Linked DNA regions of Homo sapiens: regions 1 and 2 are each linked to region 3. Evidence: promoter capture Hi-C in human tissues and cell types (Jung and others, 2019). All regions are on one chromosome and are shown on one strand. The core of a region is centred on a gene start or on the middle of the fragment in contact, and the rest is flanking DNA. Distances in the headings are between cores, read along the strand shown.

What was found. Contacts are between HindIII fragments. The study calls those that stand out against the background at their distance.
Region 1: a contact is called between a fragment that was not itself captured here and the fragment with the promoter of ELN in region 3, in 2 of the 25 tissues and cell types used here (aorta and pancreas).
Region 2: a contact is called between the fragment with the promoter of RFC2 here and the fragment with the promoter of ELN in region 3, in 1 of the 25 tissues and cell types used here (small bowel).

The regions. Positions count from the first base shown.
Region 1 is chr7:73,847,214-73,850,161 of GRCh38, forward strand. No RefSeq gene overlaps it. Among named protein-coding and RNA genes, the nearest start is that of METTL27, 6.2 kb to the left of the region's middle. The HindIII fragment of the contact is 7,829 bases long and covers 1-2,948 here.
Region 2 is chr7:74,252,978-74,255,785 of GRCh38, forward strand. It overlaps RFC2 (replication factor C subunit 2), which reads right to left and starts at 1,422. Exons shown (of 11, transcript NM_181471.3): 1 at 1,294-1,422. The coding sequence starts at 1,406. RefSeq lists enhancers at 454-1,056, 1,057-1,659, 1,096-1,325, 1,660-2,262, 1,736-1,815 and 1 more and a silencer at 1,376-1,495. The HindIII fragment of the contact is 19,783 bases long and covers 1-2,808 here.
Region 3 is chr7:74,026,502-74,029,464 of GRCh38, forward strand. ELN (elastin) reads left to right here and starts at 1,672. Exons shown (of 33, transcript NM_000501.4): 1 at 1,672-1,768. The coding sequence starts at 1,687. RefSeq lists enhancers at 83-1,055, 2,028-2,963. The HindIII fragment of the contact is 22,090 bases long and covers 1-2,963 here.

The DNA of each region.
Region 1 (2,948 bases), core at 367-2,866, 180 kb before region 3:
AGACTGAGGCAGGAGAATTGCTTGAACCTGGGAGGCGGAAGTTGCAGTGAGCCAGGATTGCGCCATTGCACTCCAGCCTAGCAACAGAGCGAGTCCATCTCAAAGAAAAAAATACAAACAAAACAAAGCCCAAAGTAGGCTAGGAATGGCAGGAGCTTTTCCTTGTTTCTCCTTCCCTCCCTCCCTCCCTCCCTTCCTCCCTCCCTCTCTCCCTTTTGTCCTTTATATTTTTAATTTTAATTTTATTTTTTTGAGAGGGGTCTTGCTCTGTTTTCAGGCTGGAGTGCAGTGATACAATCCTAGCTCACTGCAGCCTCTACGTCCTGGGCTCAAGCAATCCTTCTGCCTCAGCCTCCTGGGTAGCTGGGACTCCAGGTGCTTGCCACCAAGCCTGGTTAATTAAAAAAAAAAAATTGTAGAGATGGGGTCTTGCTATGTTGCCTAGGCTGGTCTCCAATTCCTGGGCTCAAGCCATCCTCCCTCCTTGGCATTCAAAATGCTGGGATTACATGTGTGAGGAACCTACCTGGCCTTTCTCTTTCTTTCTATGGGAGGAGGGTATTTCCAGAAGCCACAGAAGCTGGGAAACTGTGATCTGGCACTTTGAGGCTCAGGTGTGGGGTGTGAGCTTTCCATCCAGGAAGGAGGGAGGGGAGAATGGCTTGTGGTACTGTTCCCAGACCAAACTGAGGGTCGGGCTGCTACTTCTTGTGGCCCAATAACGAGATGCACACAAACTGGGGAGGAAGAGAGTTTTTATTTCTGTAACCGTTTACAGGGAGAAGGCGTGGAAATTATCACCCGACTAACTCAAAGTTACAAAGTTTTCCAGAGCTTATACACCTTCTAAGCTATACGTCTATGTGTAAGTGTGCATTCATCTGAAGACATAAGTGATTAATTTCTTTTAATCCATGACTAAGGTCTGAGTCCCGAAGCTCTTCCTCTGGAACCTCAGTAAATTTACTTATCTAAATGGGTCCAGGTGCTGGGGTGATTCCTGTTATCTCCTGCTAAATCATGGAGGTTTGAGGAGTTCCTTCAGACCGCCAATAAATTTGTTTGTGGAGGCCTGGGGAGTTTCTTCAGACCCAAAATAAAACTTGCTTAATTCTAAATGGTCCTGTTAAGAATTCCTTCATTATTTTGTCGTGATTTAAGGCCCAGGAAAGGCCTGGGCAAAACTCTTGGTGGGCTTTTGTTACATCCCAGCCTTTGTATAAGGGCACTGGCTTTTAATATTTAAATTAACCACTCAGTCAGTACTGAAACAGTTGTTGGGGAGACCTGGCCTGCCACAGTGCGGGCTCCTGTGCTGCTCCTGGGGTGTGAGGGCGTGTGTTCCTTCATGTGCACCTGTGTGATGAGCGGGGAATGTTACAGGTGTCCATTTTGATGTGTGCAGGACCCAGGCCATGGAGAGCTTGGTCCCCAGGCTATGGACTCCCTCCCTTCCTTCCTTCCTTCCTTCTTTTCTTTTTCTTTCTTTCTTTTCTTTCCTTCCTTCCTTCTTTCTTTCTTTCTTTCTTTCTTTCTTTCTTTCTTTCTTTCTTTCTTTCTTTCTTTCCTTTCCTTTCCTTTCCTTTCCTTTCCTTTCCCTCCCTCCCTCCCTTTCTTCCTTCCTTTCTTCCTTCCTTCCTTTCTTGATGGAGTCTCACTCTGTTGCCCAGGCTGGAGTGTAGTGGTGCAATCTTGGCTCACTGCAACCTCTGCCTTCTGGGTTCAAGCAATTCTCCTGCCTCAGCCTCCCAAGTAGCTGGGACTACAGGCATGTGCCACCACGCCCAGCTAATTTTTTTTGTATTTTTAGTAGGGATGGGGTTTTGCCACGCTGGCCAGGCTGGTCTCAAACTCTTGACCTCAGGTGATCTGCCTGCCTCGGCCTCCCAAAGTGCTGGGATTACAGGCATGAGCCACCACGCCTGGTCTATGGACGTGCTTTCTAACCCTGAATGTGTAATGGGGAGTTGTGGCTTCAGATTTGCATTTTACCAAGATGGCTCCAGAAGGCGGCAGGGAGAGCCAGCTGGGTGAACCGCAAGTTCCGAGGCTGTTGCAGTTACTTGGCAAGAGCTGGAGTGTCAAGAGTCAGGGGCTGCTGAGGAGGGGGTGACCTTGGTGCTGATGGGGTGTGGGGGCTGTTGAGGACCAGATGGCAACTTCCCTTCCTTGGAGTTTTCTTCCTACCTCATCTTCTTCACCGCCTCCTCCTTGCTCTTCTCCTACCTCTAAGCTTAGGAGAGGCCCCCGGCTCTGTCCTGGGTCTTCTTCCTTCTCTGTGTACACCCACTTCCTAGGTGATCTCATCTAGTCCCGTGGTTTTAAATACTGTTTATTTGTGGGTGACTCCCAAATTGATGACTTCTAGTCTTGGCTCTCCCCTGAACTCTGGACTTGTTCACCCAGCCATGAAACTGACATCTCCTTGGAGGCCACAGGTCTGGCAACGAGCCCAGACCCGAGAGTGATTCTTTCCACTCCCAAATCTGCTCCTCTTCAGGGCCCGTCTCTGCAAATGCCCCTGAACCACCTTGCACTCAGGGGCTCAGCTCAAGCTGTTTTTCTCCCATCTCGCACCCTGTTCATCAGCAAATCCTGTGGACTCAAACTACACCAGCCAGGTGCGGTGGCTCACACCTGTAATCCCAGTACTTTGGGAGGCCAAGGTGGGTGGATCACTTGAGATCAGGAGTTCAAGACCAGCCTGGCCAACATGGCAAAACCCTGTCTCTACTAAAAGTACAAAAATTATCCAGGGATGGTGGTGCATGCCTGTAATCCCACCTACTTGGGAGGCTGAGGCAGGAGAATCACTTGAACCGGGGAGGCAGAGGTTGCAGTGAGCCAAGATCACGCCATTGCACTTCAGCCTGGGCAACACAGCAAGACTCTGTCTGAAAAAACTAAAAGAAAAAAAAGAAGAAGAAAATCTCAAACACACACAAAAG
Region 2 (2,808 bases), core at 172-2,671, 230 kb after region 3:
GTGCCATTTGAAAAGTTAAAGGCATGAGAATTGTACAGCATAGGCTTCAAACCTGCCACAGCAGAGAAACACCTGTTGCTGCTGGAGCACGGCCAGCACAGGTCATCTGGAGCAATGTGACACTGTGCTGCAACCCTGTCCGCCCGTCACAAGAGGCCCAGCACATACAGCACTGACATCATTTGGTGTGACAACATGGGTGCAACCAAGCTCCTTTCTCATCCCTTACCTGCCAGTTTCTTTTCTTTTTTTTTTTTTTGGAGACAGAGTTTTGCTCTTGTTGCCCAGGCTGGAGTGCAATGGTGCGATCTTGGGTCACTACCAACCTCAGGTGATCTGCCCACCTCAGCCTCCCAAAGTGCTGGGATTACTGGCGTGAGCCACCATGCCAGGCAAGGATTACCTGCCAGTTTCTGCAGACGTGTGCCAAATACACAGCATAGCTGGCTAGACACCGTAGGCCTAGGCTGGGTACAGTGGCTCATGCCTGTAATCCCAGCACTTTGGGAAGGCGAGGCGGACGGATCACTTGAGATCAGGACTTCGAGACCAGCCTGGCCAACATGGTGAAACCCAGCCTCTACTAAAAACACAAAATTAGCAGGGTGTGATGGTACATGCCTGTAATCCCAGCTACTAGGAAGGCTGAGGCAGAATTGATTGAACCAGGGAGATGCAGGTTGTAGTGAGCAGAAATCACACCACTGCACTCCAGCCTGTGTGACAAAGTGTGACTCCATCTAAAAAAAAAAAATTAACTGGGCATGGTGGTGCGTGCCTGTAGTCCCATCTACTTAGGAGGCTGAGGCAGGGGGATCACTTGAGCCAAGGAGCTGGACATCAGCCTGGGCAACACAGCAAAACCCCCGTCTTGATTTTTTTAAAAAAATTTCAAATGTAAATGTTATTGAACCTAACAGTCAAAATATTATTTTCAACATGTAATCGATATTTTTTTTAAAAGATTGAAGTTTTTGAAAACACTAGGTCATACACTACTATACACAAAAACTTTTGAAAAAACCAACTAGGTCAGAGTAGGTGGCCACCCGGGGTAGCCCTAATTGTCATAAGCATTGTAGTGAGCGAGACTCCGCTCGCAGAGTTTAGACCGGCCACTCTCGATCCATGTCCGTCGCCTTCTTGAAATCATCTCGATGCCACCCGGGGCCTCCTCCTCCCTCGGGATTCCCCAAAACGAGCCCCTGACCCCCGAGTTTCTCCGGAGCACGGCCCGCCACTCGCCCACCCTCACGTCCAAACGCGCCCATTCTTTACGGCCTGGGACCTCACCACGGCAGTTCGTAGTGGCCGGCGCTGCCGGGGGCCTTGCTGAAGGCAGGGGCAGGGTCAGAGTCCTGGGCCTCCACCTCGCCCGCGCCACCACAGACGGCCTCCACCTCCATTCTCGCGCCTCCTCTTCCCGCCACCCGAGGCACCGCCCCTTGACGCCGCCACGCAAGCCCCGCCCCCTGGCTTCCGCCGGGCGCGAGCGGAAGTTACGTACCCGCGCCTCTCTGTGCCTGCGAAGAGGGTTCCGGTGGTGCCCTGGCGGCCATCGCTGGAGGCCGCGGTTGCTATGGGAGACCTGGCGCCCGGCCTGGGAGCGACAGGAAGGCGAGCTGTGGCCGCGACGCCTTCCGAGAAAGCAGGTCGCTCTCGGAACGGACGTTTGTGTGTGGTTTCTGTGGAAGATCCGCTCCGCGGCGGCGTGGGAGGAGCAGGGCCTGGAGGGGTTGCGGCCAAACGCGGGCTTCGGTGTTGGGACACGGACAACGCTGGCGTCCGGGCGCTGCTGGGCAGCGGGGTCCGGGGATGACGTCTGGGGCTGCCCGTGCCCACTTTTCCAGATTGCTCTGAATGTCCTAGTGAGCTGCTCCCGTTGGGTAGGCTCCTGCGCCTCAACCGCGCTCGGTACTCGACGTTTATTATCAGGGAATTCTCGGCTGCAAGATGGGAATTCCACCCCCACCCCATTTTGCAGAGGAGGAAACTGAAACCGTCCTTTTGTCAGATGAAATGCAATGTTCATTCCAGGAAAATAGGGACTCAAGGCCGGTGCGGTGGCTCACCCCTCTAATCCCAGCACTTTGGGGGACAGAGACCGGAAGAGCGATTAAGCCCAGGAGTTCGAGACCAGCCTGGGCAACAAAGTGAGATCCCCGTCTCTACAAAAATAAAAATTAAAAAAGTAGCCGGGCGTGGTGGCGCGCACCTGCAGTTCCAGCTACTCAGGAAGCTGAGGCGGAGGAGTGCTTGAGCCCAGGAGGTGCAGGCTGCAGTGATCTCTGATCACACCACTGCACTCCAACCTGGTCTGCAGCAAGACCCTGTCTCAAAAAAGAAAAAGTAAATACTTCAACCTTGCAAGGGTTTTGAGCATTCTTATGGGCTGTTTTTCTACCCAATCTTTCCTCCCATAGCCCAAATTGTCATAATATTCAATAATGATGATCCCAGAACTTTGGGAGGCTAAGGTGGGAGGATCCCTCAAGCCGAGGAGTTTGAGACCAGCCTGGGCAACATGGTGAGACCCCATCTCTACAAAAAAAATTTTTTAAATTATCCAGTTGTGGTGGTACGCGACAGTAGTCCCAGTTACTCGGGAGGCTGAGGCAGGAGAATCGGTTGAGCCCATGAGGTTGAAGCCACAGTGAACCATGATCAAGTCAATGTACTCCAGCCCCGGGGGACAGAGTGAAATCCTGTTTCTAAAAAAATAAGAAGAAAAGAAAGTAGGTACTTCAGATTCACAAGTGCTTTGACCATTCTTTGTTTTGTTTCTTGTTTTTTGTTTTTGAGATGGAG
Region 3 (2,963 bases), core at 422-2,921:
TAAGGAAACTGATGCTCTGTGGAGAGGTTTTCCTACCAGAAAGGCTAGAGCCAGAAATTTACTTCTAGGTCCACCAATACCTGCCTTTGACCAATGCCTGCATTTGACCTTTCCACGCTGAGCCACCCCTGCTGGCACTCCAGACTGCCACAGTGCTCCTGCCTCCACAAGGGGTCTTTAACTCATCCCTCGGAGCCATCGTGGTGCAGGGAAAAGCCCACAGGGCGTGTGGCTTCCATGCTGTTCCCTGACTGGCTGTGACCTAGGACAAGGAACAAGTTTCCCTCTCCTATTCTCTAGGTCTCACATTTCTTCTCCTCTAGCAGTAGTGGGAAGTGAGGGGTGGGGGACACGACCCTCCCCTGTTCCATCCCACACTCCAACCCCCAAAATCCCCCAGGGTCCCCGTCCAGCTCAGTCCTGGGGGCAGAAATGCAGAGTTCTCCAGGAACGTGGTCCCAGCTGTTTCAGTGCAGGCCGCCCCCTCCTGGCCACCAGCGGAATGTCAGCCTTCCCAGAGGGGCCGGGAGAACAGCAGTCGAGAAGCTCCCAGACTGGTGTGGGCGCTAGCTGTGCTCAGCGTGGGGATGGGAGGTGACCCAGTGATAATGGGAAGCTGGGCTGCCTGTCAGTCTGCGGGGGGCTCCCACCTCCCTGTTCCCCCACAGGGCACCTGGGGATCCAGCCTGATTTTTACCAGACCCTGCGGCCTGCATGGGGCTGGGTATAGGGCTGTGACCTTGACCCATGCAGAATAGAACCCTGTGTGTCGGGATCCTCCATGTGCTCCAGATGCCCCTGGGGACAGCACCAACATGGCCTTAACTCCCAAGCCATTCCCCTGCCTCTAACCCCCTGGCATCTGCAGGCATCCACCCCAGACCCACCCAACACCTCCTCCCCAGCTTCAGGCGCTAGGCAGAGACCTTGGCCCCTGCAGAATGCAGCCCTGTCCAGGGTCCCCTACCTTCCCCCCAGATCCCTCCCAGAGCAATACCAACCCGGGCCTACCTTCCAGGCCATTCAACCTGCAGCCCCCCGGCCTCTGTAGACATCGCACCCCCCAAACCCCCAGACCTGCCCAATGCCTCCCCTCCCCAGCTTTGGGCAGAACCTGTCTCTAGCCAGACCTGGGGGTGTTGGGGAGTCTGGAGGGCCGGGGTGGGGGCTGAGGCGCGGGACAGCTGGCCCGTATCCTCACACTGGGCCCGGGGCCCAGCCGGAGGGGCGGGGGCCTGGCCACTCGGGCCTTGGCTGGGGCTGGGATTTTTGGCCTGGCCGCCAGGCCCTCCCTTCTGCTTCCTCTCCCGAGGGCTGTCCTGGCAGAGGCCCCCCTCGCTCTTTCTGGCGGGAACAGGGCCAGCAGCGAAAGAACAGTCGCAGAGGGAAAGCGGGAAAGAGATGGGGGAAAGTGTGTGTGTGTGAGTGTGTGCTTGTGTGCATGTGTGTGCGTGTGTGTGTCAAGGAAAAAAGCTCGCAGTCCAGCAGCCCGGGCCTGGGAGGCTTGTGAGCCGGGCCTTTCGTAATTGTCCCCTCCCCGCGGCCCCCTCCCCCAGGCCTCCCCCCTCTCCCGCCCTCCCGCCCGCCCTCTCTCCCTCCCTCTTTCCCTCACAGCCGACGAGGCAACAATTAGGCTTTGGGGATAAAACGAGGTGCGGAGAGCGGGCTGGGGCATTTCTCCCCGAGATGGCGGGTCTGACGGCGGCGGCCCCGCGGCCCGGAGTCCTCCTGCTCCTGCTGTCCATCCTCCACCCCTCTCGGCCTGGAGGTAAGGACCCCTCGCCCCTGTCCCCAGCGCTGCCCACAGCTGCGGGCCCTTTGGGCCAGGTGACTAGACGCTCAAGGGGGAGACCTTCGTCCCTGGGAACTGCAAGGGGTCCCAGGTGGGAGCCCCTCAGCCACTGGGTCCTCGGAACTGCCCCTCCCAGGAGCCAGCCCCGTGCCCAGGAGGAACCTGTCAAAGAGACACCCTCGACTCAGAATAGTCCCAGCCCAGCATCCAGGCTTTGCTGCCCTGCGAGGGCTGAGGGGGCCCCTGCTCAGGTGCCCGGGTGCCCGCCCTGTAGGGGGATCAGAGCATCCTGGGGGAGGGCCCAGCGGGAACCCCTGGGTCTGGAGACACCACAGTCTGCACACCTGTGGACACAGCTGGGGTGCACACCAGCCCTGGGGACAGGGAACCTGGGCTTGATACCAGCTCAACCGCAGTGAGCTGTGTGACCTCAGCAGGTTCCTTGACCCCTGGGAAGCCGGGATCCCCCCGTCAGGAAGGTCAGGGCTCCGCTGAGGATGGGTTTGCAGGTTGGGAAGCTGCTGCTGTGTTCTCCCTGCTGAGGCAGGCAGGGACTCCTGGTATGCATTTGTGTGTGTGTGTGTGTGTGCATGCACACAGGAATGAGCGTGCTGTGTGCTCGTGTGTGTATGTGTGCATGCACAGGTGTGCATGTGTTCAGATGCCCGGCTGTGTCACTGAACAGGGAAAGGGATTTCTGGAGGGGTACATATGTCTGCTCACAGGTTCATCCTTAGGCAGGTGTATGCGTATGTTTGGAGGAGGTATATGAAGCTGCTCCTTAGTGTGTGCAAAAGTCTGCCACCTGACAGACATGTAGACATGTACACATGTAGACATGGGCGATCTGGCATCCAGGTGTGACACTGGTGTGGACTGTCACTGTGTGTGTTATGGAGTGTGTACATCTGTGTGTGTGAATGTGTGTGCGATGTGGCACGCAAGCATGGAAAGGCGGGCTGGAGAAGGTGTCTGTCTCCTGGCAGAGGCAGTGTGGCTGAGACAGAGGCTGGAGTGGATCCTGGGGCACTGCTGGGCCATCTGCTATGTGCCCCAACCCAGGCACAGTTGGTTATGGGGTTTGAGGGTGTGCCCTGTGGGGCTGCTATGCCGCGGCCAACGGGGGAGGACAGAAGAGGCTCCCGGGCATGGGAAAAAGGAGGGCATTTGG